6 separate regions of the Homo sapiens genome follow, and regions 1, 2, 3, 4 and 6 are each linked to region 5. The links are contacts of gene promoters, found by promoter capture Hi-C in human tissues and cell types (Jung and others, 2019). All regions are on one chromosome and are shown on one strand. Each heading gives the region's core, a stretch centred on a gene start or on the middle of the fragment in contact. The rest is flanking DNA. Distances are from core to core; before and after follow the strand shown. Region 1 overlaps LOC101927947 (a long non-coding RNA gene). Region 2 overlaps LOC101927947 (a long non-coding RNA gene). Region 3 overlaps LOC101927947 (a long non-coding RNA gene). Region 4 overlaps LOC101927947 (a long non-coding RNA gene). Region 5 holds the start of SFRP2 (secreted frizzled related protein 2). Region 6 overlaps LOC101927947 (a long non-coding RNA gene).

Region 1 (5,031 bases), core at 1,575-4,074, 380 kb before region 5:
AAAATTAGAGTATACTGAGGATACTTACAAATGATATAAGTAGAAACTATTTTTTAGCTAACAAGAAGTTTTAGGTAATTTAATGGTTGTATGCCACACCAGCAGAACTCTGGGTTGTCAAATATACACTCTACAGAGCAGTTGGTCACATATGTGCAGAAGTCCTTACTAGGATCAGCAATGATTTTTCTTTGTTTTTTTTTTTCCTGCCCCTCCATGTTAGTAATAGAAATGGAGACAACAGTAATAAGAGGTGAGAGAATCAACCTTTGCTCCAATCATTTCTAGTTTTATAGTAAATTGTTCCCTGTTATGCAGGTGAGGCAATGTCTTCGGTCCCATCTTTGGGCATATTTGGAGATAAGCCAATTACTTGTTCTAATTCTTCTTTTTCTGGAACTTTCTAAGCCTAGATCTTGGATCATAGCACTCTGCTCTTCTCCCCTCTTCCTATGCTTGAAATCTTCAAGAAACTCTCCACATAAAAGTTACTGGCCAGCTTTATATCTGCCTCTCTGCTGATATCCTTTATTTTTGAAAACTCAGAATCTCTTTACCCTCCTTTCCCCTCATTCCTTCACCCAGGATTGTGAGCTCGTCTCCTTTCTCTGGTTTCTGCTTCATCCATTGTGCCATTCTTCTTCTATGTGTTGTTAATGCCCTGCTTCCAATCAATTCTTCCTTTTTGTTTTAACCTCAGGCCAAGGTTTATTCCTCCTCAAAATTTTTCCCTTGTTTTTATTATCCCCTTGAGTACCAAACTTTGCTGTTAATTTTTCTGAAAGAATAGTCTCGACTTAGAAACATCACTTTCATTCCAAACATTTGCTATGTAAATTAATGTTGTCTGGATCCTGCCCTGTAATTCCACAGAAACTCCTATGACAAAGTTGTCAATGACCTCATAATGGATAATTCCAAAAACCTATTCCAGGCCTAGCTTTTTTGACTCACCTTTGTCATTTTCCTCTTCACACCAGCCTCTCCTCCTTTGAACTACATTTTATTTGATACTGAGGAACTTCGCTCACCCATTTCTTTCTCTCTCATTGACTCCTTTTATGACTTCATCACTTCCTCTTGTCATCTAGCCATGTAAAAGAAGGAGCTCCTTTGGGCATTGTGCTGAGAATGTCTCTCTTTGTGTCCCCTCCCCAGCCCTACTATTTTTCTGCTCATCACCCCATTCATTCTCATAGTGTTGGCCTTACAGATATAAACTCCAATTAGATCTTGTCAATGAGACTTGGGGCCTCAATAGGGTGCTCTTGAGTAATATGTGTTGACTCCTAAATCACTTATATATTTATTTACTTTACAAGATGATGTTTATATGGTTTTTGGTTTTTGTTGGTTTTTGATATTTTTTTTTTCTTTTGAGACAGGGTCTTGATCTGCCACCTAGGCTGGAGTGCAGTGGTGCAATCATGGCTCACTGCATCCTCAAACTCCTGGGCTCAAGCGTTCTTCTTGCCTCAGCCTTCTGAGTAGCTGGGACTACAGGTATGCACTACTGCACCCAGCTAATTTTTGTGTATTTCTTTTCTTTTTTTTTTTTTTTTTTGGCAGATACAGGCTTTCACCATATTGCACAAGCTGATCTGAAACTCCTGGGCTCAAGCCATCCACCCACCTCCACCTTCCAAAGTGCTGGGATTTATAGGCATGAGTCACTGTGCCAGGCCATATATGGTGTTTTGCTTATATGTTTTCAATTTTAAGGTACCCAAGGGCAAGCACCATGCATAACTAACTTTCCACATTTCAAAAATGATGATGGTGGTGATTTTAAAGCTTCCTCTTTCTTACCTTGTTGACTCTCACAGTGTCATCTGAAGGGGCCATTTCTCCTGGTTACCCTAGCTTTTTACCAGTGACTTGGTCTCTTCCTGTAGTGGCAACACACGTGAAGCCAGTCAGAAAGAAACAGTGCTTCTCTAGCAGCATGAATCAGCAGCCACAAGTTTGCATTTTGGAAATAGTTTTGGCAGTGAGGGAAATTATCCTGAGTTAATTGGTGCTGTTATCTCTAAGTGGAAAGAAGGAGTCATCTGAGGGTGGGGTGGGGCAGAATGAAATCAGTGGAGGGCTAGCAATTAGGCCAACTCAGCAGCAGCATGGGAAAGGTTAGAAACAAATATTCTGCTGAAATTGAATGTAACTTAGAGCCAGAAAATTCCTGGGAAACCACATTAGCCAAACCTCTCATTTCACAGATAAGAGGCCCAGAGAGGTTGTTATTTCATCTCTGATTTAAACAAGTAAGTCAACAGCAGAACCACAGCAGGACTCTACAGCTCCAGTTCCTAGTCCAGGGCTTTCAGCTTCACCACTCTGCCTCAAGATGCTTCCATTGCATGGTCTGCTCAGGATTAGCAAGTGGGTCTTCTCTGTGGGGACTTTTTGACTCTTGAGAATTAAAAAAAAAAAAAGCATTATCAACCAAAGACTCAGCAATATATATATATACACAGAAAATCAACAAGGGCAACATCTTTTCAGAGGCCAAGTGGTCTAAATTGATGTAGACTTTCTCTTCAACCAGAGTCTTAATGTATCCTACATGAGGCGATGTATGTGTTGATTTGGGTATCTTCCCAGCCTCACAGATCATCGAACTTTGCCTTCATTCTTACACATCAGTCCACTCCCAGGGCCACAGTCCAGATACCAGCCACTACCAGGAATTGTCTGTCAAAGTCAGTTCAGACTGCTATGACAAAATACTATACACTGGGTAGGTTGTAAATAAGAGAAATATTTCTTACAGTTCTGGAGGCTATAATGTCCAAGATTAAGGTGCCAGCAGTTTCCGTGTTTGCCATTGGCCTGCTTTTTGCCTCATAGGTCATGCCTTTTAGCTGTGTCCTCACATGGTGAAAGGGAGCAAGGGAACTCTCTGGGGCCTCTTTCGTCAGGACACTAACCCCATTCATGAAGGCCCCACCCTCGTGATCTAATCACCTCCCAAGAACCCCATCCTCTAATATCATCACCTTGATGATTAGGTTTTCAGCACACGAATTTTGAGGGGACACAAACATTCAGACCCTAGCATATTCTCTTAGCAAAATTTCACTCTCCAATCTCTACTTCTAATTCTTCCACTTCTCACACTCTAACTATGTCTGTACTGTGACATTTCCACTCTCATCATGCCTCCCTATACCCTCTCAAATTCCTCTTGGTTTCAATTTTCTCACCCAGCTTGGACCATACAGTCAATAATTTCAGCCATGTCTTTGCAACATCTTTGTCTCCCACCTTCCTGATTCCTGGGTGTTGGGTCCAGCAAATCCTTCTGATGTGGTTTGTATCTCTGTTCCCACCCAAATCTCATGTTGAATTGTAATTCTCAGCCCTGGTGGAGGAGCCTCACGGGAGGGGATTTGATCATGGTGGTGGAGTTCTCATGAATGGCTTAGCACCAGCTCCCCTTGGTACTGTATGGTGAGTGAGTTCTCAAGAGATCTGGTTGTTTAAAAGTGTGTAGCAGCAGCGTGGGAAAGGTTAGACACAACTATTCTGCTGAAACTGAATATGATTTAGAGCCAGAGACTTTCTGGGAAACCAGGAATTTCCCGCTTTCTCTTCCTCCTGTTTCTGCCACGTAAGACAGGCTTGCCTCTCCTTCACCTTCCACCATGATTGTAAGTTTCCTGAGGTCTCCCCAGAAGCCAAGCAAATGCCAGAATCATGTTTCCTGTACAGTTGCAGAATTGTGAGCCAATTAAACCTTGTTTCTTTACAAATTACTCAGTCTCGGGTATTTCTTTATAGCAATGAGAGAACAGACTAATACACCTTACTTAATCCTATCACATTCATTTTTTCTGCTCCTGACATGTTGAGCTCAGTTGAATAAAATGACAACATTGTAACAATTAGCCACTAGTGTACATTTGTCATTTCCACTCTCACATGGGCCTTCATTACAGCTCAATATTTTTATTCTCATCCTATTTCTTATTTCCTGTATACCAGCAATATCAGAGCTCTCAAATTATCTCTTCCATTTGACTCACGTGACTTTCAGAAATGGCCACATTTCCCAGGACACTAAACAAAAAAGGGCCCATTGATGTACACTCCTCCAACTTCCACCTTCCCACCTCCAATAAACACATCACCACCCTTACCTTCTTTAACCTTCTCTAAAACCTACAGAGCTATTTAGATATAAATACCTGTGACTTTCCCCTTTCACCCGCATCCTCTTTTCCTATTGATTGTACAGAAACTTTAAAAATAATCATTTTACTGGGAGAAACTAAACTTCCCTCTTTCCCTCTTTGTACTTGCTAATCAAATGTCTTTGCTTAATTTTCTCTAGTTACACACACACACACACACAGAGAAAGAAATACACACACAGAGAGACACATACACACGTGAATTTAAGTTCATATGAGCCCATGAAATTAGTGCCTTTATTTAGTAATAAATCATCTTAATAGTAATAAATCATCTTAATATTTAGTAATAAATCATCTTAATAGAGCTCAGGGAAAAATAAGTACTGGTGCATGCTAGATTTGGTCATGGTGTTTCTACACACCCTCCCAGTAGGCAGTTTGTAGTAGTTCCATCAGTAATGAAATGCCAATTATCAGCAGTTAACAGCACATACTTAACCTGCTGATATCACATGAAGTGGGAGTTTTCCAAGATCTCAATCTTTTTATTTCCAAAATTTCTAAATTAGCAAGCCTACTCTGGGGCTACTTTATAAGGTATTTATGATACCTAGGAGCCCCAAGTATGTTTCCCAGAATTCATTTTAACTAAGCAACAACTAGCTGTACACATGATATTTTCCCCGTAAACACCATTTCTGCTAAGAGAAATTAGACATTTGCAGATCAGAAGAATTGACATGCTGATGGTCCCGGATCCTGGCAGAAACACACTCTATGTTTCTCTTAGGATGGTTGAGAAAAATACAAAGGTATGACATCCCACAAAGGAACCTCAGTATTTGCCCCTCCTTATCAGCTAAACTTAAGTGTTCACTTAATTACCTCTTGACTT
Region 2 (4,992 bases), core at 1,690-4,189, 320 kb before region 5:
GTAGACACCTTAAGGAATCTCCTGGTCTGTTGGTTACAAAGACCATGGGAAAAGTAGTATCTGGGCCCAGAATGCACCATTCCTCATGGCACACTCCCTCATGGCTTCCCTTGGCTAGGAAAGGGAAATCCCCTACCCCTTGCATTTCCCAGGTGAGGCAACACCCCACCCTGCTTCAGCTTGCTCTCCATGGGCTGCACCCACTGAATAACCAGTCCCAATGAGATGAGCTGTGTACCTCAGTTGGAAATGCAGAAATCACCCAACTTCTGCGTTGATCTCACTGGGAGCTGCAGACTGGAGCTGTTCCTATTCCGCCATCTTGCCAGCCACCCAGAGTGATTTTATAAAGGCAACTATTAGCCTTATTTTTTGGCAGTGGGAATAGTCACAGTGCTAATGGTGTTCATACCTTTCTTTATATCCATGAAAATGTGTAAGTTGAACACTTATAAGAGGAAAACAACCATACTATAAATAAATGTATAACATATACATTAGTTTCCTGGGCTGCCATAGCACATTACCACAAAGTAAATGGCTTACAACAGCAGAAATTTATTCCCTCACAATTCTGGAAGCTAGAAGTCTGAAATTCAGTGTTGACAGGGTTGGTCTCTTATGGAAGTTCTGAGGGAGAATCTTTTCCATGCTCTCTTCTAGGTTCTGGTGGTCGCTGGTAACCCTTGATGTTCTTTGGCTAGGGGACACATCACTCCAATGACTGCTTTCATCTTCTCCTGGTGTCCTCTGCTTTGTGAGGAGGATTCACAAAGTGAGTGCTCTGTGTTTCCCTGAGTCCAAACATCCTCTAAGTCTAATGTCTAAAGACACTAGTCATTGGGTTAGTCCTCGCCGTAATCCAGTATGACCTCATATTAACCCAATTATATCTACAAAGACCCTATCTCCAAATAAGGTCACATTCACAGGTATAAGGGGTTAAGATTTTAAGATATCATCATGAGGAACACAATTTAACCCATAATAACCAGCATCTCCAAAACAGGGTATTTCCATTCAACCAAAATGCTAAAATTACCTTGTGTAAATGAAAGAACAAGTTTTGAAAAGTTATTATTTATGTTTCCACTGGGAATATTAAAATTTGTATCCACTTAATTTGAGAAACATTCATAATAGCAAGGTTTCATATATATGTGTATTATTTGTGGAGATACGCATGCACCCATCCACTTAACTCATATACACACAAACACACAATCTTATACCACACAGGCTTCTGCATGAGGGTGTGATGAGGCTTTACTGTCATGCTTCCCTAGCTGTGCATATGTACATGTGTACAAGCGGAGCATATCTAAATAATGTTCATCTGTCTTTGAACCCATTCCACAAATCACTGTCTGGCAGTGGAGAAATTAAGAAGATTCAGATTACAAAATTAATAAGATTCAGATTACAAAATTAATAAGATTCAGAGTACAAGTTTATTAAATGATGGTGGGTGAGTCATCAACAAACACATGTCAAGTAGTACTTTGTCCCCCCTCTCTTTTTGTTTCTTGAATTTGATGTTCACGGATGTTATGGCTAACTATTCACCTAACCTGTCTCTTCATCCTTGGCCCACACCTAGGTGACATTTCTTAGCCAGTTAGACAAAGCCATGGACCTGACTTCTACTCATCAGAATGTGAACAGAAGGAATATGTGCCACTTCCAGGCTTGGCTCATAAAAACCTGCAATGGATGCTCTTTCCTGGTGTTCCCTCCTTCCTCTGGATTGGCTCCGATGAGCAAAGCATCCTTTTGGAAGCTGTTTTGAAGATGGCAGAGCCATAAGGCAGAAGAAGCCTGAGTTTCTGAGTCACTAAGTGGCAATCATGAACACCCATATTAAGCTTTATTATGTCTAAGCCATTATATAATTTAGGGTTTGTTTGTCACATCACCTTGCACCACCTTAGTATAAATATGTGTGCTACAAACACAAATGGGGATTTAAGCTGGCATAAGTCAGCAGGAATGTGAGAATGACTGAAAAGTAATGTCATTATTATTTGATTGCAATGTTCTCCCTGCCTAACTAGTGCCTTGAAGCCTGTGCAGCTGATCATGCTCTTGAATGCCTTTCATCTTATTGCTGGCTTATGTACATGTGATACAAGGCCATGCATATTTCTCTCTTATTTCAAGCCTTTGACCTGTCTCCTTAACTACATAGTAAACTCGTTGAAGCCTTTTGCTTTGTCTGCTACTGCTCCTAGTTCAGAGTTCAGGACTATTGAATGCTCAATATATATTTATTTATCTGAGGGTAGACTGATTCTTTAAACAAAGCCAAGGGAAAATTTTACCAGCTAAATAATTTTTGGTGTATTTAATGACTTTTAAAACTAGTTTCAAGGCCATAAAGAAATTTAACCCATATGTATATTAATAAATATACTTACAGCATAAACATTAAAAACCATAAATACGATTAAAATCCATTTAAATTACTATTGGTCTCTTCATTTAAGGATATGAAAGAGGTTTTATTGAATTTTTCTCATAGCATTTTGAGAGAAAATGGGACATTCTTAGAAACAAATTTATTTTGAACTGAGACTTTCAATGTGTTTCTTGACACACCTAATGTATCAAATCACAGCTAAAATTAAATTAAAGGAGGAAAAACACCCATGCTATTTCTCAGGTTTAGACACAGTAAACAGGCTCACAAAACCAATGTCAGGCCATCTGTAAATTACTTCCCACATAAACTCTGTTTCACAATCTGGTCCTAAACTAATGAAAATGTAACTCAAGTCCAAGTCAGATTAACCTAAGTTTAACTGGCCTATATGAGAATCCATATGCAACATGTAAAACCATACAACTAAGAGACGAGAGACAAAAAGTGATAGAAGGTAAGGATTTTATCCTTGCAGTGGCTTTTGTCTATTTCTGCCCAGCTTCTGTGCATTTCTCTGGTAACATAATCTATCCCTTTGGCCTCATGAGAGTTCAGAAGACCAGGGCTAGCCCAGTTAGTGTATCCTCCTGTTCTCAGACGTGGAAGCCAGGATGACAATTGATGGTCAGTGATGGTCAGTTGCAACTGACCCTAACTAAGATCTGCCCTGAAATTTTTCCACCTAAGATTAATGGGACAGAACTTCTTTACTCTCCTGGTGGCAGAGTTGTTGGGTTGACTTGAGGGATTCCTGTTGCCCATCACGTGCCAAAGATGATGCAGAGGTAAGAGAGTGAAGTCAGCACAGACGAAAAGCAGATGCCAGACAGAAATGGAGAGAGGGAGCCTTGAGAGCATCAAGGGCCACCAGCATTGTCATTCCCGAGGCCAGTATTATCCTTTGTCCTGAGTTTGGTTTTATGAGCCTATAAATTCCCATTATTGAGTTAAAGCTAGCTTGTGTTAGATTTTTGTCACTTGAAACTAAAAGGCAGTCCTAAACCTGCAGTCCCTAAAGCTAATGTTGTCTTCCCACTCTGGCATGGGACCACTATAGTTGGTTTCTGTTAGTTGGATAATCTTCTGCCCTCAGTAATATCACTTTGGCTATTGATCTGACTCTATTTTTTCAAACTATTTTCCCACAAGACCTTAAAGGGTATATCTTGTATAACATATGCATAATAAATATTCTGAAAGATTAAGAATAATATACCTTGGTATCATGAAAATCTCATAAATATTTGTGCTTAATCTACCTAAAACTCTGGATATCAAAAGTGAACACTGGTCCTGGGAAAAACTGATTAAACTCTTGAATATTTTAGGGAGATATTTATGATTATGCATAAATATTTGTGCATAATCTACCATAAATAATTGTGCATAATCTACCTAAAATATTCTACTTCATGGTAGTCCATTTAACAAGATACTCCATTTAACAAACTAGCAAATGGTTTGCTACTTGATTCAGTAGAATTCTACCACTCTAGGAGACATCTTTATTGTTTTACTAAAACAATGCTTGGTTGGCATGTTTAAAAAAAGACACTTAGAATTCTGTGAAGAAAGTCATTGATAACTTGATGGGGATGGCATTGAATCTATAAATTACCTTAGGCAGTATGGCCATTTTGATCATATTGATTCTTCCTATCCATGAGCATGGAATGTTCTTCCATTTGTTTGTGTCCTCTTTTATTTCATCGAGCAGTGGTTTAAAGGTCATATGGAATCAAAAAAGAGCCTGCATTGCCAAAACAATCCTAAGCCAAAAGAACAAAGCTGGAGGCATCACACTACCTGACTTCAAACTATACTACAAGGCTACAGTAACCAAAACAGCATGGTACTGGTACCAAAACAGAGATATAGACCAATGGAACAGAACAGAGCCCTCAGAAATAATACCACACATCTACAACCATCTGATCTTTGACAAACCTGACAAAAACAAGAAACGGGAAAAGGATTCCTTATTCAACAAATGGTGCTGGGAAAACTGGCTAGCCATATGTAGAAAGCTGAAACTGGATCCCTTCCTTACACCTTATACAAAAGTTAATTCAAGATGGATTAAAGACTTAAATGTTAGACCTAAAACCATAAAAACCCTAGAAGAAAACCTAGGCAATACCATTCAGGACACAGGCATGGGCAAGGACTTCATGTCTAAAACACCAAAAGCAATGGCAACAGAAGCCAAAATTGACAAATGGGATCTGACTAAACTAAAGAGCTTCTGCACAGCAAAAGAAACTACCATCAGAGTAAATAGGCAACCTACAGAATGGGAGAAAATTTTTGCAATCTACCCATCTGACAAAGGGCTAATATCCAGAATCTACAAAGAACTTAAACAAATTTACAAGAAAAAATCAAACAACCCCATCAAAAAGTGGGCAAAGGATATGAACAGACACTTCTCAAAAGAAGACATTTACGCAGCCAACAGATACATGAAAAAATGCTCATCATCACTGGCCATCAGAGAAATGCAAATCAAAACCACAATGAGATACTATCTCACAACAGTTAGAATGGCGATCATTAAAAAGTCAGGAAAC
Region 3 (4,495 bases), core at 841-3,340, 400 kb before region 5:
AAGGTGAGTGTGGTCACCTTCCCCAACCAGGCTTAGGAATTCTTAGTCGGCCTAGGAAATCCAGCTAGTCCTGTCTCTCATTTTCACCAAACTGTTTTTTGTTCTGGAAAATATAGTTAATTTTCTTAAATATATCTTATGTTAATATGAAAAGTGCTTATTACTGTTATTATAAATAAATTAATACATATTTTTATTTAAATTCATCATTTTAATTTCTAATATAATTATCAACACATAGATTCCACAGAAACAAAAACTCTTTGGAGTCTCAACAGTTTTTAAGAGTGTTAAGCCATCCTTAGATCAAAAAGTTTGAGAATCACTGGCTAATACCACCACTGAAAGATAACTAAGCTGTGACCCACAGAGTTGAAATGGATTACCCAAAGTACCTACAACCTGGCAGAGCTCAGACACAAAGCCAGGATTTCCCACTCCAAATGTTTTAATAACACCGGTCTGACCCTCTCTCCATCCTAAGTGAAGCCTTTCTCTATTTCCCCATTCTGTCTGCCCAACTGTAGACACTATATCCAAAGGCACATTGTTTTTTGTTTGTATGCAAACTTATCTAATTTTAGTTATAAACAAGGGTCACAACTTGCCACCAGCCATGCTGCCCCACCCCTCTTCAACACAGATGACCTCTCCATCCTCACCTGGTTTGGAACTACTTTAAATATAACTCATTCTCCTCCTAGAAGCTCATAATTGGAAACAGACTTTGGATCTTTTCTCCATCTCCAGGGTGGTCCTCATTGAGCTCTTCCCTTGCACTACTATTTCAAATTCTGTTTCTCCTTTTTAATTCTTTTGCATGATACTGTGTTTGCATAAATCGAGGATTTCTATAAATGAGCTCTGGAAAGCTTAGCCTGTTTCAAGGTTATTTAGAGAGCAAAAGGAATGTGTCTTCATGTGTGGGGGCAGGAAAGATGGCACAACCCAGTCAGCTCACTCACTAGCAAACAATGTGTACACTTTGGGAAGCAAGGACATCATTGCTGTGGATGCCAGCGGACAACTTCATCCACTGGAGAAGTTTCTTTTGTCTTCAGTCGGTGCCTAGGGAAACAAGTGGAAAAGGACTAGAAAACAATTTCAAAGACAGATAGCACCAAATTACCTTCCTCTAAGATAAATAAAGGTTCATGCAAATATTGAGACTAATTGCTTAAAACTTGCAAACATCTGCAGAGGAAAATCAATTATCTAATTCATAAAATCACTGCTGAATTAGGAAAGATAGAGGGCATGTCTAATAGAGGTCTTCTCTACATTCCACTGTCCCAGGTACAATGCAATGTACCTAGTACATTGAAATCACTGCACACTTGGGCAATTTGGCCACCTCTGGCCTCAGACTTTGTTGCAGGTGGCTGGGGTGGTACCTCAGCATTTTGAGCAGTCACAGCTATTGGATAAATAGAACTGATCAATAGGTTCTCTCTGGTAAGTCCTACTTCCCACACAGGTAATGCATCTTACCAATAATACACCAAACATTCTTGATAATTCTTTGTAAATTTTTCCCTTTCTAATTTTCTTTAAGATTTTTTATTTGTTGTCTTTTATGTGAACACTTGATTAAAGGGAAATTCCTTGATAGGTTTGTGGGAGATCATGCCAGAAACGGTAGAAATTTGAACCAGTCCCCTGTTTATCCCTTCCAGAGTCTTCAGGATGGCTCGGGGACTGATTTCAGTAACGAAGTACCAACCTGGGGGATGTTTCATTGTCTGCTGTTAATTAATTTGTTTTCCCAATGTTTAGATTCTTCCTGGAGAATAAATTTTTAGCCAAGTGGTGAAGAGATTCTCATTATTTTACTCAGGACTTTGAAGATTGGGTGTACCTTAGCTGAGCTTCCACACTATCACCAAGACATGTGTAGAGAAACTTTTCTCTAGGGGCCACTTCTGCAGAGCACTGACGAATGGAATCAGGAAAAGAAAGGGAGGTTTGAGCTTCTGCACCTACCCTCTGCTAGAAAGGGTCATTTCCTCCTTCATATTTTCTGTTTTCCACTGGACTTTTCAGAGATGTTTTAAGAACCATTTATTGCTGTGAACATTGAACTAATGAAACAAAACAATGAAACTAAATGTTTAGAAATGTTTTTAACTATTTTTACACTTCATAGTCATCCATTGAGCCACAGATTGAGCAGCAATCAACTTGTGAACATAAGAAATTTCTAGGCAAACAATAAATTTCTGTGTACTCTATATCCTCATGCAAAAACAGGTGCCAGAAGAGGCACATATGAAAGCTGAATTACACAACACAGATCTCCTTCTGCAGAAAAGGACAGTAGTAGGAACAACTGGTGCTTCGTTTTCAAATCCAATTCTCATTTATCGTCACAGAATTATTGCACTATCCTGAAACGCAGAGTAACTCAAGACCATGTTCAAAAACAGATTTGACAGACAAAGGTAACTTGCCTTTGTTTTAAACATTTAATAAATGCCTCTGAGACTAACAAAGCTTCCCAGGCGGTCTGTGAGGAACACATGAGCCATATTGCAGGTAACTCCAAGGCAGCCGGCACAACTGCTTAAGGACTTTCCAAATAGCAAAATGCTGCTGATGGAAAATGTGACTCTCAGCACATTGGCATGTGGCTTCTGTGACTGTTATCCAAGGAGAGGAAATGAGACCAGAGTGGGGATGAGTTGGTTTCAGCAACCCTGCCTGGCCACACCTGTCAGATTGAATGACAGAGACTCTAAAATAAAATATTAATACCCATCTCCTGAAAAATAAGCTCACGTGACTTTAATGAATTCATTTTGACTTCTCTTTATCTCACACGGGGATAAAAGCAGTTAAAAACAAACAGTTTGATAATCCTGACAACGGGAAAAAGTAGCATTTTTCTCCCTTCAAACAAATCACTTTTTCTTTATGCATTTTCCTTCAAAATAGTTCTATGCTTTCTTCAGAAAGAATTACACATGACTTGAGATTCCAGTGTATTATTTGGGGTGGGAAAAGCTGGCAACTGAAGCATAAAGCGCCATGTTTTTGCAATTATCTCTCTTTGGCATCCCCCTCATGTGCTCCCTAGTGAAGAGGCAGAGCTGAAATGTGGGGCTGGTCGTCTAAGAAAGAATGTAGTAGTGCTAATGGTGAAAATGTGCTAATTTTAAAAGGTAGTAAAGAGCATCCACGATACAGTTCTGTAGACTCACTTCTTATTTCTCACAAAAATACAGCTGTTTTGCTGTTGATTTTAATGCTACTTAAGTCTATAAAAATATTTTATTCAGACTATAAATAGTTTTGCTCAAATTAGCTTTGGAGCTCAACTGCATTATGCTTCTGCCCTCAGAGGGCAACTTGGAAATAATGGTGAAAAGAATGTGACCTCCAAGATCATCTCATGGGAAAAACGGCATAGTCCAGGTGAGGTTTTCCTCTTCTTATTCTCTTCTATTTTGATACATGAGAAAACAGATGGGGTTTTAAGAATACAGAATGTATCTTTGTTCTTCTTTGCTAAGCTTGAATAGAATTGGTTAAGAATTAAAGAATTTATCAACAAATGAAAATAGCGTAGAACACATGTGTTGTTTTCTAATTAAAATATCTTAAAAATTAATAAACACCAAATGTAGAGGTCTAGATAGAGTCACGCACTAGCATGAACACACACACATACGTAAGTGTGGAGGCGCAGGAGTAGTTTTCTGGGGTGTGTGTGTTTACTCATTACTGCCTCAGAACTACAACAGATATGGTTATGCCAGTCAGGTGTGTAGATGCCTACATTTAACACGCGAGTCTAGTCCTTGAGATATTAAAGTATGGATAGGGAATACAATACCCTGTAGCCTTGTTTTCAAAGGGACATTGACCTTTTCCTTGGTGCTTTTGGGGTAGGAGTGAGGTTAACAAGAGCTGTTAGCTAACTTCTGGGTCTTGGTCTTGGAAATAAGGCCTGGTGGGGAGTTGGAATGGCAGAAGGTGTTGCCAGAGAGGTTTGAGAGCAAGGAAGTCAAAGAGGTGCACAGGAGCCACAGAGAACGGTGAAAGCCAGAAGTTAGTCCTTGGGATGAAGGTGAGGAAATGAGTTTGAGAAACTAGTACAAACTACATATTATAAATGGAAAACTGGGCCAAGGATCGGAAACCAAAGAGACTGGGTACAGATGAAAACTGTAGTATGATACGGATTAAAAATGGACTATGATTGCCGTAGGTTGCTTTTGCTGCTATCACAAAATCCTGAGACTGGGTAATTTATAAAGAATAGAAATTAATTTTTTGCATTTCTGGAGTCAGAGGAGGCCATGATCAAGGTGCTGACATTTTGTGTCTGGTGAGGGCCCTCTTGCAGCATCCTCACTCACATGGCAAAAGACAAAGGGCAGGAAAAGGGCACATTCTCTCCAAAGCCTCTTTTATAAAGGCATTAATCCATTCATGAGAGTGGAGTCTTTATTATTTAATTACTTCCCCAAGGCCCTACCTCTAAATAGCATCA
Region 4 (5,047 bases), core at 2,122-4,621, 350 kb before region 5:
ACAGCCTGGTCTTCTAATCCCCACAGAACACTCATGCGTGGGGAGGAAAGTACCTGGTCCTTGGCCCTTTAAATTAATGAAATTATCATGACACTCACACACATATGAGCACACTCATGCACCTTCACACTTTACTTTTGCCTCAAGGATGTGGGTAGTTTTAGAATTTAAAAAAAAAAAAAAAGTGGTTCCCAGGACTAGGGGCAGGATATGAGGGGGAGTTATTATTTAATGGCATGGAGTTTCAGTTGGGGAAGATGAGAAATTTCTGGAGCTAGATGGCGGTGATGGTTGCACAACAATATAAGTGTACTTAAAGCCACTGAACTGTCACTCAAAAATTGTTAAAATGATCAATTCTATGTTGCGCATATTTATCACAATGACAAAAAGTAGGAGTTAAAGAAGAGAAGTTAAATGAGGTTTACCAGCCCAAAGTGTTGACTGTGCCAATGCTGAGAAACTCTGGGTTACAGGGTTAAACAGGTGAGTCTTATAGAGGTGACCAGATGAGTGGCAGTGTTCTGCTACACCGTGAGTTGATTTAACTGGTTTTATTTTTAGACCTTGAGTTTTGTTGTTTGCTATTTTATCTTTCCCAGAGAGAATATAAGATAGAGTTCTGTTAAGCTCCTGGGAAATTGAGCAGGTTCTAAAGGAAGAGTGTTTGTTTCTGTAGCACTTTGAATTTCCATGGCTTGTAATACAGTTTTCAATAAATAAGGATAGTAATTGTGGCCAGATACAGTGGCTTCTGGCTGAAGTGGCCTTGTCATCTCTCAGTGTTTTTTGCGAGAAGACCGATATATAGACAATATTATCTTTTCTAGATTATTCAGAATTACAGAATAAGCTTTAAGTGAGAACAGAATTTCAAATTTAGATGATAATTTTTGCCCACTAATCAATAAGGTGGAAAAAGAGGACAAAAACTTTGAAAATAACTAAAACCCAAAACTGAGGCATTCAGGCCTCTGTCCATAAGGATTCCATCTCTCAGTGAATCAAAACCTTACCCTTGAAGGTCAAAGTTTTCATACCAACCAAGATAAATAAAACTATTAATTTTTTTTCAAAACATCTGTTAGAAATATCACTCCACATACCTGCTGCTTTTAAAAAATCCAGTCTTAAAAATGGAAAATAAAATTTAATACTGTGTTATTACTTACAGTTGTAATTGGCAGAGTTTCTAGCTGCCTTCTGAATTTTCAAGCACCACCCAGACTTGTTTTTCTTTCAAAAAGGATTTTTCCCTTAAGGTGTTATGAAGATCTCCAAGTAGAATTGCACGCAGTCCTGTGAAGGATAGATGTTATTTTTTTCACCTCCAGTTTGATTTTTTTAATGCTAACTTTGTAATTTGCCACAAAGAAAAGGTTCTGTATATAATATTGGTATTCTGTTATAGGATTTACACCACACATATTTGTATGGGCCTGTGCCTGGGAATCTTACCTAAATCCTTTATCCCTGCAGTTCCCACTGAGGACTTTATCTTTAGATCCAAAGTGCTAGAAAATCTTCTGTGATATTTAAACTTTTAGTCTGTAAAGCTGCTAATGTTGATAATAATGCAGATATATAAGAAAAAGCCAAGCAGAGTTTTAAAAATATTTTTGAGAGACCCAAACTATTTCTAGAAGTCTCAGCGGACTTTCATTAATCCATTCAACAAATATATGATGAGCACCATTTGTTTGCCAGACACTGTTTTGGACAACAGAAAAAACAGAAGTGAACAAGACAAGATTCAGCTCCGCCCTTGTGAAATGATTTTTTTGCAATGGAGTCAGACCTTATACCACCAGTTTGAACAATAACTCATTAAACTTTGAATGAGTTCTCCTTATTAAGTACTTCAAAGAGAAGTATGAAAGTTTATCTGGAAGATTAAACTTGGAGAAATGGATGTTTGAGCTTAGTGCCACCCATGGCCCCAGGCAAGAGTCACCACAACCAGCACTTCAAAGAAGCCCACACCTCCATTCTAGACCAGGCTCGGGGTGCCCTGTACCTCTGAATTACTGAAAGCACCTCAAGCCTCTTCCCTGGGTCTATCATGCCAGTGGGAACTAAGACAAATAGGTACACCCCAAGGCTTCAGGGTGATGACCAAGAGAGTTTGCTTGCAATGTGTGTATGTGTGGATTTTGACGTACACACTGGGATATTCACAAGCTCTTCCTTTCATGATGAGAGGAGCCAAGGATGGGGAAAGTAGAAAGATGAGGCTTCGGCCACAAGTCAGGAGTCCCTGTTCTTACACCACAGCACTCCCATGTGAAACTGCATGGAATCTGAGAAGTCTAAATTCTGTCTATAGCATGTGTTTCCATTTGCATTCTTGCTTCCAGCCCTAAAAATGTTAGGGGTGGGGCCATCTGATCTGGGCTTTGCAAGACAAGTTGAAACTAAGCAAGAAGAAAGCCTCTACACAGGAGGCCCACACGTGTCAGGGCTCTGAGGTAGAGAGAAAATGATGTGTCTGAGGAACTGAGAGGCACACAGAGAGGCTTGACTAAAGAGCAGTACAGGGCCAGAAGAAAAGCCTCCCCTGCAGGACAGCCTTAGGAAGCAGCATATTTTATGCCCATAAATGAAGGTCTCCATAGCATATTTTTGAGTAGGTGTGAAAAATTATAAAAAGATTTGCATTGCTATGCTGTAATTTCAACATAATATGTACAAAAAATTGAGACAGATGTTTTTAAAATACTTTTCTTTCAAATTCTGAATGATCAGCATCCCGTTATCACAGTTCTTTTGGACAAATACCATAAATAGGATGGCTTATAAACAACAGAAATTTATTCACAGTTTTGGAAGCTTAGAAGTCCAAGATTAAGATGCCAGCATACTCAGTGTCTAGTGAGGACTCACTTCCTGGTTCGCAGATGGCACCTTGTCACTGTGTCCTTGTGGTGGAAGACACAAACACTTCCTGCTTCTTTTATAAGGACACTCATTCCATTTAGGGCGGGTCTCCTCCCATGACCCAATCATGTCCCAAAAAGGCCCCATCTCTTAATATCATCAATTTGTGGATGAGGATTTCAACACATGAATTTTGGGGAACACGCATGCAGACCATAGCACCCATTATCTTCGTATTCCTATGAAATGTGAACAGTCATTTCCCATGTCCCCCGAGTCTCAGGCCTAGGATGTGGGGTCTGTTCCCCTCCACTACTCCAGCTGTTTTTACATTGAACAAATATTCATAATATTCATTCATCTCTTTACTCATTTAATTCAGCCATAGTTTATTAAGCTGCAATATAGGAATGATAATATATTAATAGAGAGGTGGGAAGGATGAAATAAATTTTTATATGTGTATGTGTATATATATTTATATATAAATTTCTACATAAATATTTAATGTTTAATATTTTAATTTATCAATATTTTAATACTTAATATTTATAAAGATATATAAATAAATTTATAATGTATATAGTATAATTTTTATATAATATTGTTTTATATTATATATTTTAAAATTGTATATAATTACATATATTAACATATACATTTATACATAATATATGTGAACATATAAATTATATTATATAAATTCTCATATGTAAATTATATATAATATATATTTTATATAATATAATTATATATTATACATTTATATGGAAATTATGTATGATTTATAGGTTATTTATATAATTTTATATAAATTATAAGTTTATATATAAGCAAATTTATTTTTATATAAATATACATATTTACACACACACATATATATTGCTTAGAACAGCACTAGGAAACCACTAGGCACACAATAGGATGATATGCACCAATTAGCAGGAAAATTCTTAAGAACAAGAATTACTTGTTCTTAAGACCAGAAAGGAAAAGACAGCTACACTACTTGACCAAAGGGATGAAGGCATGGAGTAGAATGCTGTGTTAGGGAAGAATGAGCCATCAGTGTGACAAAGAATGGCTGGGTCTAGTGTTGGGAGATGGGCCTGATAGGAATGAGATTAAGGAGGGACTTGGATCCCATGCTAAGGAGTTGGGCTTTTATTCAGCAGGGCAGTGTTTCTCAAAGTGTGGCCCTCGGACATTAGAATCCCCTGTGTGGCTTCTTAAAAATGAGGACCCCTGCCTCCTATTCTCCACCCCAATAATGAGTTGGAATGTAAGGCCTGGGACATTTTAACAGGCTTTCCAGGTGATTCTTGTTTATAGTCATGGTTGAGATACTGAGATACCATGAAGAGTCAAAGTATGTTTTCTAAACATATAGTTTGTACAATAAGCTTTGTCTTAGACAAGTGGCTGGCTATACCCATACATACTATGGGCAGTAGCAAGAAAGCTCCTCTTCCAGAAGAAAAACATGTATTTGTTACAGAAGTGTGAGTTTCCCTTTAAGAAAATAAATTCGTGTAAGATGCTTGTTGCCAGATATGTTAAGCCAAAGGGGAAAAAAATCTCAAAGCAAATACACTTTTTGCTAGCAAAATATGTTCCCTCATTGTTCCCTAAGATTCTGACATTTGAGGGAAAAAAGATACTAAATTCTCCTAGAAATAATAAGACTTGTTGGTTTTTCTCTATTATGCAATACAGACCTCTAACCTAAATTAACCTCAAGGTTAATTTACACTTTAGGTAATAGAAATTACAAAACAATGGCTGGAATGAAAAATGATAATGTTTCACATTTCTATGAGTTAATTTCAATGAAAATGCAACATTATCAAACCTTCTTTAAGAGATGCATCATCCTAAAATGTTATATATTGCTCAATACAAGCTCCTGTGTTTAATATTTTTACAGTTTTACGATTTCCTTCCCCATGAGCTTGACTATTTAATAAAGAATTAAAGACATTTTGCTAAAACCTAAACATATCACAAAGTTCTTTGTTAATTATTACCCTTTGTAAGATGGATCATCACCTTTCATAATATGGAATATGTATAAAAACATACATTTTCAAAGTGTGTTTAACAATATGGGACTTTTACAAATTATAAGAATTTAATATATTTGTATTAATGATATATTTATGATCTTTAG
Region 5 (4,986 bases), core at 1,313-3,812:
TAAAAGCCTTTGGTGGGTTTTGATCAATTGCAAGGATCGAAGGAGACCTGTGGACCTGAGGTCAACTGGCAGCAGAGAAGAGTCTGGGTTCGTGAAGGCGCCGCCGCGGTGCCGCGCCACGTGTGAGCATCCCAGGGACCAGTCTGGGGAGGCGCGCTGGGATGGGCACCCAGTGTCCCATCCCTGCGCTGCTCATATGGGCAGAGCTCCGTGCCCGCGTCCCAGCCTCCGCGGGAGGTTATTGCCCTGTTCCCCAGTGATCAATTGGACCGGTCTTAGCCCAAAAGCAGAAGGGAGTGGGGAGAGCGACTTGAGGTGGGAAAGGCAGCAGCAGCGAGTGCAGGGTCGGGACCAGACTAAGTGGCGTGGGTTCCGGGAGGAGCAGCGATGGGCCGCAGGGGACGCCGCGGGCCGGGCAAACAAGCTGGCCAGAGGTGGACACTGCGCACGGCAGGGATGGAGACTCAGGCGCGACTCCCAGCACCTCCTGGCGGCAAGCCGGGCAGCGAGGGCTCCCAAAACAATGCAGCCGGCGCGCGGAGCGCGGGGGCCGCCAGCCACTTCCGGGCGTGCGGCAGCGCGGGGCTCAAACCAGCCAGACCAGCTTCGGGCTCCTTGAACTCCCAACAAGGGGCTCTGCGGGGAGGAGGCGACCCCAGCGGAGGGCGTTGGGGATTTAGGGGTTGGCCGGGGCCGGCGGGGGGTTGGGGGGGCGTGAAAGCGAGAGGGCCCTTATCCCACTCCCAGGCCCAAGTCGTAGCATCTCTCAGAGCTCACGCTCTTTATTAGCTCTTTCTTTTGGTGTGCTTCTGTTTCCTTTGTGGTTTCATTGCAAAGTAGTTTATGTTGGGAAGGGGGCTTTTAGGCCTCTTGGTGCTTTCGTTAGAGACGAAAAGGCCCTGAACCAATTTGGGGAAAGAGAGGCCTTTTGCAGCTACCCCGGGCCCTTCCCCAGCAGAGCACCCGGAAGCTGGGCTCTTAGGGACGCAGATTCTTGGAGTTCAGAATGTGCATTCTCTCCAGATGACGATTTTCCTGGCGTGTTTACGGTCAGCAGATAACACTGAGTGGGCTTTTGCCACCCATTCATTCATTACCCGGCTCCTCTAAGCAGCTGGACCGCAAAGTGTGCCTGATAACTTGGGCCTGGGAGCCGCCAAGGCCAACGCATCTTCCGGAAGGAGGGAAATTAGGAAGCCGGGGTCTGAGCCTGTGAATGACTCTTAAGTGGTCGGGAAGTAATAACAATGCGCCCACCTTACATATGAAAGAACTTCGCCCTCCGGGGATTATCTCTTTGGATCTTCACAGCCACCCGGAGACAGCGGCTGAGGAGAGCGAAGGCCTCCTGTCCCCATAGGGAGACTAGGGACAATTAGGCAAAAGGAGCCCACCCCCCAACCCAGAACTTACTGTTTGCAGTCAGAGACACTAGATCCCAGGCTCCACGAGAGCAGAGGCCGGCCTGTTTGTTCATTTCTGCACATCCAGCGCCCAGCATGGTGCCCCCTGGTACGTAGGGGATGAATGAGCTAATTCTAGCCCTCGTGGATCTCTAGGCAGGACTCCTTCCTCTACCTCGCTCCCTCCCAGCCTGCCCATCTTTTGTGCCCGTCTTTTGTGCCGGCCACCAGTCTTTACAAACAGTGCCCTGGGGGCCCATACTCCAGCTTTCCAGAGCGCACAGCTGCAAGGGCGGCTGTGTGTTAGAGCCCGTGATGCCTTCGAGTATTGAGTCATGCCATTCATTTAAGAAGGAAAAATCTCTCCAAAACGGGGAAATGGTGGGCAGTCCTGTGTGACTGGTGAGACTCTTGTAGGGGCGTTTCTACAACGACGAAACCCTTCCTAGGCACTCACTCCAACAGAATAACAAGCCCATTTTATTAGTATTTCGTTTTCCATGTAAAGTTCTGCTCATACGAATATATTTATAATTCTGATTTTTTTACGGCATTGGGGAGCACACCGACAGGCTGCTGAACGGTGGCTGGAGATTCGAGGGAAAACGAAGTTCGCCGAGGCGGCCTCGGGCGGGCAGGTCCCGGGCTCCATCACAGGGCACACGCGGCTACCAGGGACGCAGCCCCCCAACACACACACACACACACACACACACACACACACACACACACACACCCTCTCCCACTCATGCCTGGCAACCCAGCAGAAACTTCGGACTGGGGCAAAACAAGCCCGGGCCCCGGCGGCACGCGGGGCTAGGCGCGTTCCCGCCAGTACCTGGTCGCGAGGCCGCTCGCGGGGTGCCCTGCGTGCCCCCCACTCCCGCAGCCCGCGCCCTGCTCGCTCACTGTGGGGGCGCAGCGGCCAGGCTTCTCTGTTTGTTGTTTAAAGAAATCCTAGGGCGGGCGAGCGGCGGCATCTAGGGGAGGGGGCGCAGCCAGAATTCCCTTCCAGCAAGCGCGTGAGGGGCATTCTCAACGCAAAACCAGACCCAGAAAGTAGTGACCAGCCCTCCTCGGATTACCCTTCATTGGCTCCTCCCTTGCTCCCCCCACCCTCCAGATTTGCATAAAAAAGGCCAAGAAAACTCTGGCTGTGCCCCAGCAACGGCTCATTCTGCTCCCCCGGGTCGGAGCCCCCCGGAGCTGCGCGCGGGCTTGCAGCGCCTCGCCCGCGCTGTCCTCCCGGTGTCCCGCTTCTCCGCGCCCCAGCCGCCGGCTGCCAGCTTTTCGGGGCCCCGAGTCGCACCCAGCGAAGAGAGCGGGCCCGGGACAAGCTCGAACTCCGGCCGCCTCGCCCTTCCCCGGCTCCGCTCCCTCTGCCCCCTCGGGGTCGCGCGCCCACGATGCTGCAGGGCCCTGGCTCGCTGCTGCTGCTCTTCCTCGCCTCGCACTGCTGCCTGGGCTCGGCGCGCGGGCTCTTCCTCTTTGGCCAGCCCGACTTCTCCTACAAGCGCAGCAATTGCAAGCCCATCCCTGCCAACCTGCAGCTGTGCCACGGCATCGAATACCAGAACATGCGGCTGCCCAACCTGCTGGGCCACGAGACCATGAAGGAGGTGCTGGAGCAGGCCGGCGCTTGGATCCCGCTGGTCATGAAGCAGTGCCACCCGGACACCAAGAAGTTCCTGTGCTCGCTCTTCGCCCCCGTCTGCCTCGATGACCTAGACGAGACCATCCAGCCATGCCACTCGCTCTGCGTGCAGGTGAAGGACCGCTGCGCCCCGGTCATGTCCGCCTTCGGCTTCCCCTGGCCCGACATGCTTGAGTGCGACCGTTTCCCCCAGGACAACGACCTTTGCATCCCCCTCGCTAGCAGCGACCACCTCCTGCCAGCCACCGAGGAAGGTAAGCCTTCCCTCTTGCTTCCCCACTCCCTGCTGGGCTGAGACGCTCCCAGGAGATCCCGCCCCTGCCACGCATCCCAGTGCATCCCTGCTTGGGGTGCCAGTAGCGGGAAGGGCAGAAGTTCTGCCTGACCTGGTCTGTCATCACAACAAGCCTGTATCAAATTTGAGGCACCCCTCCCACGCCGCCCAAGTCTCGCGCATTCTCCTCCCGAGTTGTACCAGCTATACTTAAGGGCAGTTTAAAAATAAAACAAACAAACAAAAACAACAAAACTAAAAAAACGAAGAACTGAACGGCGGTTTAAAAAAAAATAGATACACGATTATTGTTAAAGATGCTAGCACTGGAGCTGCGCAGAGCGTTGGAAGTGGTGTTTGGTGGAGGAGTTTGTGGTGAGCATTCTGGCCAGAGGCCCCTCGCTCAGCCTCATTCTGCACCTTCCTACCACTGGGCAGGATTCTAGTCACAGGAACATTTCCTGTACAGAAAGGAAAACCAGGATGCACAAGTAGATAACCTTTTAAGGGTCTTTTTGTCCTTTGTCAATTTAGATTTTGGAAATAAAACCGGGACTGGCACGGAGTGTGTGGAAAATTGAACATTGGTTGTAACTGCTCAGATACTTGAGGAAGAGGGCATAAAGGGAATCTCTGGAAATCACTTTTCTATTGCTATCAGTTTTTAACTTAGGAGTGGTTTTGATTAGCTGGAGAAAATCATGCAAAAGAGATTCCCAAGTTTTTAGAAAACGGAGGGAGAGTTCCTGTGCAAAAACCATCAAAGCAATGAAAACCTCATGGGCTCTCAATATTTTTTCTGAAAGGAAAACATATACAATGCCTCTGAGCTGATTTGGGTCCCCTGGGTTGGAAAAGGGAGCTTCCTAATCCCTTTCAGGGCTTCAGCAGCCTCTCCCTTTCAATCTCTAGTAGTTTTCCTACAGACATCATTAGTTAAAGCAAATGCAAAGTTCTTTAGCAATCTTTCCTGGCAGGGACCATGAGTTTGCAATCATCTTATTGGTTAGATTTCTAATTTATTGCAAATGTTTGGCATTTTTCAAACATTTGTCCAACATGTACCATAGACCAACCAATACAGGTTAGTAATATTTTATATACATCCTGAGAGCTCCTAATTGGAAATGTTTGATTTTGTTTGGGTGAGGGGACTTAAGGGCAGTTTTATGTATGTTGCTTTTATTTCTTCCCACTATCAGCAGCAACATTACGCATCTTACATTTCTCCAAAAAGCCACTTTTCTCCTTCAAAATAAAAGTTTATGTTCTTCAAAATTCCAGCTTTGTGATTTTTCTAATTTGATAAATAACGCTTCTATTAAGTCACATAGTTTTCTATGAACATTAAATTTCACATTAGTGAAAATCTCATTTCACCTAAATTTTAAAGACATAATTAACACATTTATAAATGAGAGAAGGGCAATATAATTGTTCTTTTTTTTTTTTTTTTACTTCTCCCAAGAAATCAAACTCTTAGAAGAGCTTTTAGCAGGTCTTCTGATAATTGTGCTAGTATACAATCCCTAAGTTTGATCAGACCACTAAACCATTTTTGCTTCGTCTTTGATTAGCTTCAGAAACAGGTTTATTTATTTGTTTGTTTTGAGAGTTTGAAACAGGCACAGAAGGGCAAGAAGAACCTGTACCAG
Region 6 (4,455 bases), core at 632-3,131, 300 kb before region 5:
TTCTTAATTTTGGCTTCAATTTTAATGCAGAACTGCAAACTCCATTCAGGTATCTCTGAGTCATTCTTGACTGATTTTTTTGAATGGGTAGAAGGTGGGAAGAAAATAAGCAAAGAGAAATGTAACACAATATGTTCATGTGTGCTTATATGCTGGGAACAATCTTCTTTGGAGCTTCTAAATGAGTAAGAATAACAGGACAACAGTCAAAAATGGAGAAATATAGAGTCACAACATAATAATTTGAATAGCTTTTAAGTAACAGTAGCATAAGACCAAAATTACTACATGGAAAGATGACTGAATGCAAGTGGCATAGTTTACAGTATAAGCTCCATAGGACACTTTAAAAAGATATTCTAAACAATAAAATTTAGCCTCAAAATTTTAACAAAATATTCTCTTTCTAAATACAATGGGTTTTTTGTTTGTTTGTTTGTTTGTTTTTTAATTTATTTTTTTTTTAGACGCAGTCTTGCTCTGTCGTTCAGGATGGAGTGCAATGGTGCAATCTCGGCTCACTTCAACCTCTGCCACCTGAGTTCAAGTGATTCTCCTGCCTCAGCCTCCCGAGCCACTGGGATTACAGGCACCCACCGCTGCACCCAGCTAATATTTGTATTTTTAGTAGAAGCGGGGTTTCGCCATGTTGGCCAGGCTGGTTTCGAACTCCTGACCTCAGGTTATCCGCCCGCCTCGGCCTCCCAAAGTGCTGGGATTACAGGTGTGAGCCAGCACGCCCAGCCGGGTTTTGTTGTTGTTGTTGTTGTTGTTTTTCTGAAAAATAGAAATCAGCTATTTCCATTTATACATATTTTATTGAAATGTGCTGTGAGGGACCTTTTTAACCACCCTCAAACAACCAAATGGAAGACTTGCCCTTCTTTGCAAAGGATGAGATGTTTCTTATCTCACTTTTTAAAATGTAGAAACAGGGCTGATCCGGGGTTATAAAACAAGCTTTCACAAAACTGAGAAGCCAAGATTAAAATCTTTCTCCTGCATGGTAATTTAATGCAATAGTTACTATAGGAAAACAAGACAGTTAAAAAATGGATTCAAGTGTTGAAAGATGTTACATTGGGATGTGTAAAGGAATCCAGGGATAACCTGATCTCAGTAGATAACTGTTTGAGCTTTGGGGGTTTTATTTACATTGTGGTGAATCAGAAAAAAAACCTTTGGGAAACGGCTTCGTGACTACCTAGTATAGCCTTTAACAGAGCTTAAGACAACACAGGCTTCTAGCTCCTCCCAGCTCCCACCTCAGCTCCACAACTCACAGAAACTGCTCCCCAGTACAGGAACCTGATATCAGTACTCCTTTTTCCTTCCTGCCAAAGCGTCCCATTTTCCCATACAAAAGTATCTGGCAAAATTATAAAATAAATGAAATAAAGAGAAAATGATCCGGGATAATTTCAAGACACTGAAAGGTTTACACAGGGAAAGAGGAAATTTTATCATTTGATGTTTGCATCTAAGTAGAAAACTTTACACAATCATCTGACCCAGTTTTATCATCTTTCCTTTGTCTTTTTTTTTTTTTTTTTTAAGAAATATTCCTGCTGGCAAATAAGCCTTTTTGGTCAGTATTGTAGACAGTAGGCTATGCCTATCTTCCTTCAGAAAGTTGCACTTGATGCTTCATAGATACTTTAATACACGATTGTTTTCAGCACTGATACATTTCACTTTGTTTATTTCTATTTCCAATAAAAGATAATGAAAAGTAAGGAAACGTGCTATTAAAGTTGCATCCTTGTGCTACTACTTGACTCAATCTTTACATCTAGATGCTCACATGGCGTGCCCATTTACTATGGTGCTGCACCATCATGCTGAGGCAATCGGGACTTAGGATGTCTAAAGGATGGGTTCCTCATCATGGGGTGATTAAATAATGGGGAGAGGGAGCCCAAGCCTCTAGGAGGAGGAAAATGCCCACAAAATAGGAGATTCTTGCATACTTGGAGATGTTTAAGCGTCTATCTGCTACTTGGAAAGCCACTTTCCACCCTGGAACTACCTGGCACTTAATATACATGAAGTGTGGGTGTTCCACTCTTCTAATATTTCAGATAAAGGTGGTTGAGACCTTTTAGCAGCTTGTAATTTTTTGTAATTTTAATCATTCACAGTAACATGGACTTCACTAGACTGTTGATTATCAAACTGTCTACACATTTGAATAGCCTGGAGAGCTTTTTTAAAAAGTACCTATGCCTGTGCCCCAGAAATCCTGATTTAGTTAGTCTGGTGTGGGCCTTTGGCATCTGTATTTTTTGGGAACTTCTCAGGTGATCCTAATGTTCATCCAACATTGAGAACTGCTGGATTAGACTCTGTCTCTCTCTCTGATCTACTGAACCAGAAGTTCTTGGAAGAAATCCCTGGCAATATGTGTTTCCCAAGCACACTCTCAGTGCTCTGATTTCAGCAAAAAATTTCCAAATTCAATATTTATTAGGTTTTCTCTATAACCCTGTGCAGTGGACTATGAAGATGCTTTCTCCCTTATGCAGATGATGAATCAGTGGCTCAGAGAGGTTAGATGATTCACCCAAGTTCACCTGGCCAGAACTGACAGCCTGGGCCAGGACTTCTGACTCAGTAACCTTCATCCTGCTCCTGCTGAATGCATAGAATGTCAACTACATAGGTGTAGTTTGGGTCTCACTGTTGACTAGGTGCTTAATAAGTCTTCATGCTTTCATGATATTTCCGAGTCTTCTTTGTTGACAGATGGCAGAGATTTCTTTTGTTCTAATAAAAGTGTCTCAAATTGTGCATCCCCTTAACATTTCCTAGTCCCCTTCCATACTTTATTTTTCTTCTCCGCCCCATCTAGCATACCTTATATTTTACCATTGTTTATTTGGCTTCTGAGTCTGTAAATGACTTTACTGTCCCCCATGGCTTCCGCACAATGCTAGAGGAGTCGCTTGGGCTTCTCTCTCTTCGATAGAGGCCCTGGAAACCTCCACTTGGAAGAGCCCACTCAGTGCTACACAAGCCCCAACCCCAGCAAGCTGGGGCCCTGGAGCAGCAGCCGCTGGCCCCCTAACTACAGTCATTGTGCTCTTATTGTATGCAGAATATTGTGAGATTGGCAGGCAGCAAGACCTACAGGTAAGTCCCTACCCTGTTAGTTTGTCTGATTTATTGTGTCTCTAGCACTAGGTATTTTTAATGTTATTCACTCTTTTATTCCCAGAATCTAGAGGCAGTCCTTAGGATACAGCTTTTGAATGAATAAGTGGTTGAGACAATGGAAGCTCCTTCATCTCTAGTTAACAGGCTATGTCTAGGCCTCTTGGTTCTTCCTAGGAACAGTCCTGTGTTATTTCCTAAACTAATGGTCAAACTGGCCCAGTTTCTGGCTCTGTTTTTTCTTTAATATGATTTGTTAAACATACTTCTCATGTGCTGTTGAGCTAGCTTGTCAGTTTTATAATTAACACAGAAACAAATGGAGCCATCTTTTGTTGCTTTCATCAATAAAAGAGTACCTGTGAGACTACACCAAAAAAGAAAAATTGTGAAAGTTTAAGTCCTTTCTCAATGCATATATATGCCATTCATTCTTTTTCCCATTATTTATTGGGTTCTGGAGATCAACGACTTCCTGAAGGAGAGCCAGGACAGGAACTCCATTCATCAGAGCTTTGAAACAGCATGAGGAGAATGGATGTGCCTTTGGCCTGGAAGAAATGAAGCATTTCCAAATATTTCATTCCGTTTGATGAAGAGACAGAGCTGGTTTCAGGAAAGTGGTTTGTTTTCTCTAGAGGTTATATTGAAATGTTTTCTGGCATTTCACTTAATAATGAAAATGGCAAAATAAATATGCATTAGTCTGTTTTACTTGAGGCAGGATCAATGAATCCTCTGACATGCTGGGCACACCATCAGCTTACCAGCAGAGATGGTAAATGAATAAATAGGAATAGATGCAAATCAGCATACCCATCAATATGTATAATCTGGGTTCTAGGAAGAGAATTTCCAATTCCCCTTTAATTCTACTGTGTACCATTATTGGTGGACTTTGCCAGACTAAAAAAAATAAAACACAAAACATCCACACTGAACCTTGAACATATCCTTATATAAGAGTTTTTATTCCATCAGCAATAAAGCATCCTCAGAGGACCCAGAAGCCCACATTCCTGAGGACAGTGCTTGACACTGATTGATTGCTTTCTAATATATTTTCCAAGCTACCTGGTTCAGTCTTCTGACCACAAATATAACTAAAAAATCTCGCCAGTCCTTCTGAGTCATCCCTCGTGACTACTCCCATCTGCACTCTGCACTTCACTTGCCTGATACTGCTTCACTTGACCTTCCTAATTCACCCATTTGGGTTGACGTGATGCTCTGTAAATATCCCTCTACTTGTCTCATGGACCCTGGATGGTGCCACTATACCTTTTGAGGGTGAAGGAGTCT

What was found. The method cuts DNA at HindIII sites, captures the fragments that hold promoters and counts their contacts. A contact is called where the count stands out against the background at its distance.
Region 1: a contact is called between a fragment that was not itself captured here and the fragment with the promoter of SFRP2 in region 5, in 1 of the 25 tissues and cell types used here (bladder).
Region 2: a contact is called between a fragment that was not itself captured here and the fragment with the promoter of SFRP2 in region 5, in 1 of the 25 tissues and cell types used here (thymus).
Region 3: a fragment that was not itself captured here is called in contact with the fragment with the promoter of SFRP2 in region 5 in 3 of the 25 tissues and cell types used here (mesendoderm cells, neural progenitor cells and thymus).
Region 4: a contact is called between a fragment that was not itself captured here and the fragment with the promoter of SFRP2 in region 5, in 1 of the 25 tissues and cell types used here (mesendoderm cells).
Region 6: a contact is called between a fragment that was not itself captured here and the fragment with the promoter of SFRP2 in region 5, in 1 of the 25 tissues and cell types used here (H1 embryonic stem cells).

The regions. Positions count from the first base shown.
Region 1 is chr4:154,162,356-154,167,386 of GRCh38, reverse strand. All of the region lies in intron 10 of LOC101927947 (a long non-coding RNA gene), which reads right to left. Among named protein-coding and RNA genes, the nearest start is that of DCHS2, 330 kb to the left of the region's middle. The HindIII fragment of the contact is 3,975 bases long and covers 837-4,811 here.
Region 2 is chr4:154,103,823-154,108,814 of GRCh38, reverse strand. The region is part of intron 9 of LOC101927947 (a long non-coding RNA gene); the gene reads right to left. Among named protein-coding and RNA genes, the nearest start is that of SFRP2, 320 kb to the right of the region's middle. The HindIII fragment of the contact is 4,768 bases long and covers 556-4,992 here.
Region 3 is chr4:154,187,678-154,192,172 of GRCh38, reverse strand. All of the region lies in intron 10 of LOC101927947 (a long non-coding RNA gene), which reads right to left. Among named protein-coding and RNA genes, the nearest start is that of DCHS2, 300 kb to the left of the region's middle. RefSeq lists a silencer at 2,530-2,730. The HindIII fragment of the contact is 4,243 bases long and covers 1-4,211 here.
Region 4 is chr4:154,138,368-154,143,414 of GRCh38, reverse strand. It overlaps LOC101927947 (a long non-coding RNA gene), which reads right to left. Exons shown (of 15, transcript XR_007058336.1): 10 at 1,173-1,299. Among named protein-coding and RNA genes, the nearest start is that of DCHS2, 350 kb to the left of the region's middle. The HindIII fragment of the contact is 3,059 bases long and covers 1,842-4,900 here.
Region 5 is chr4:153,786,659-153,791,644 of GRCh38, reverse strand. SFRP2 (secreted frizzled related protein 2) reads left to right here and starts at 2,562. Exons shown (of 3, transcript NM_003013.3): 1 at 2,562-3,311. The coding sequence starts at 2,810. RefSeq lists enhancers at 500-669, 931-1,632, 1,633-2,334, 2,249-2,418. The HindIII fragment of the contact is 9,313 bases long and covers 1-4,986 here.
Region 6 is chr4:154,083,153-154,087,607 of GRCh38, reverse strand. All of the region lies in intron 9 of LOC101927947 (a long non-coding RNA gene), which reads right to left. Among named protein-coding and RNA genes, the nearest start is that of SFRP2, 300 kb to the right of the region's middle. The HindIII fragment of the contact is 4,955 bases long and covers 1-4,358 here.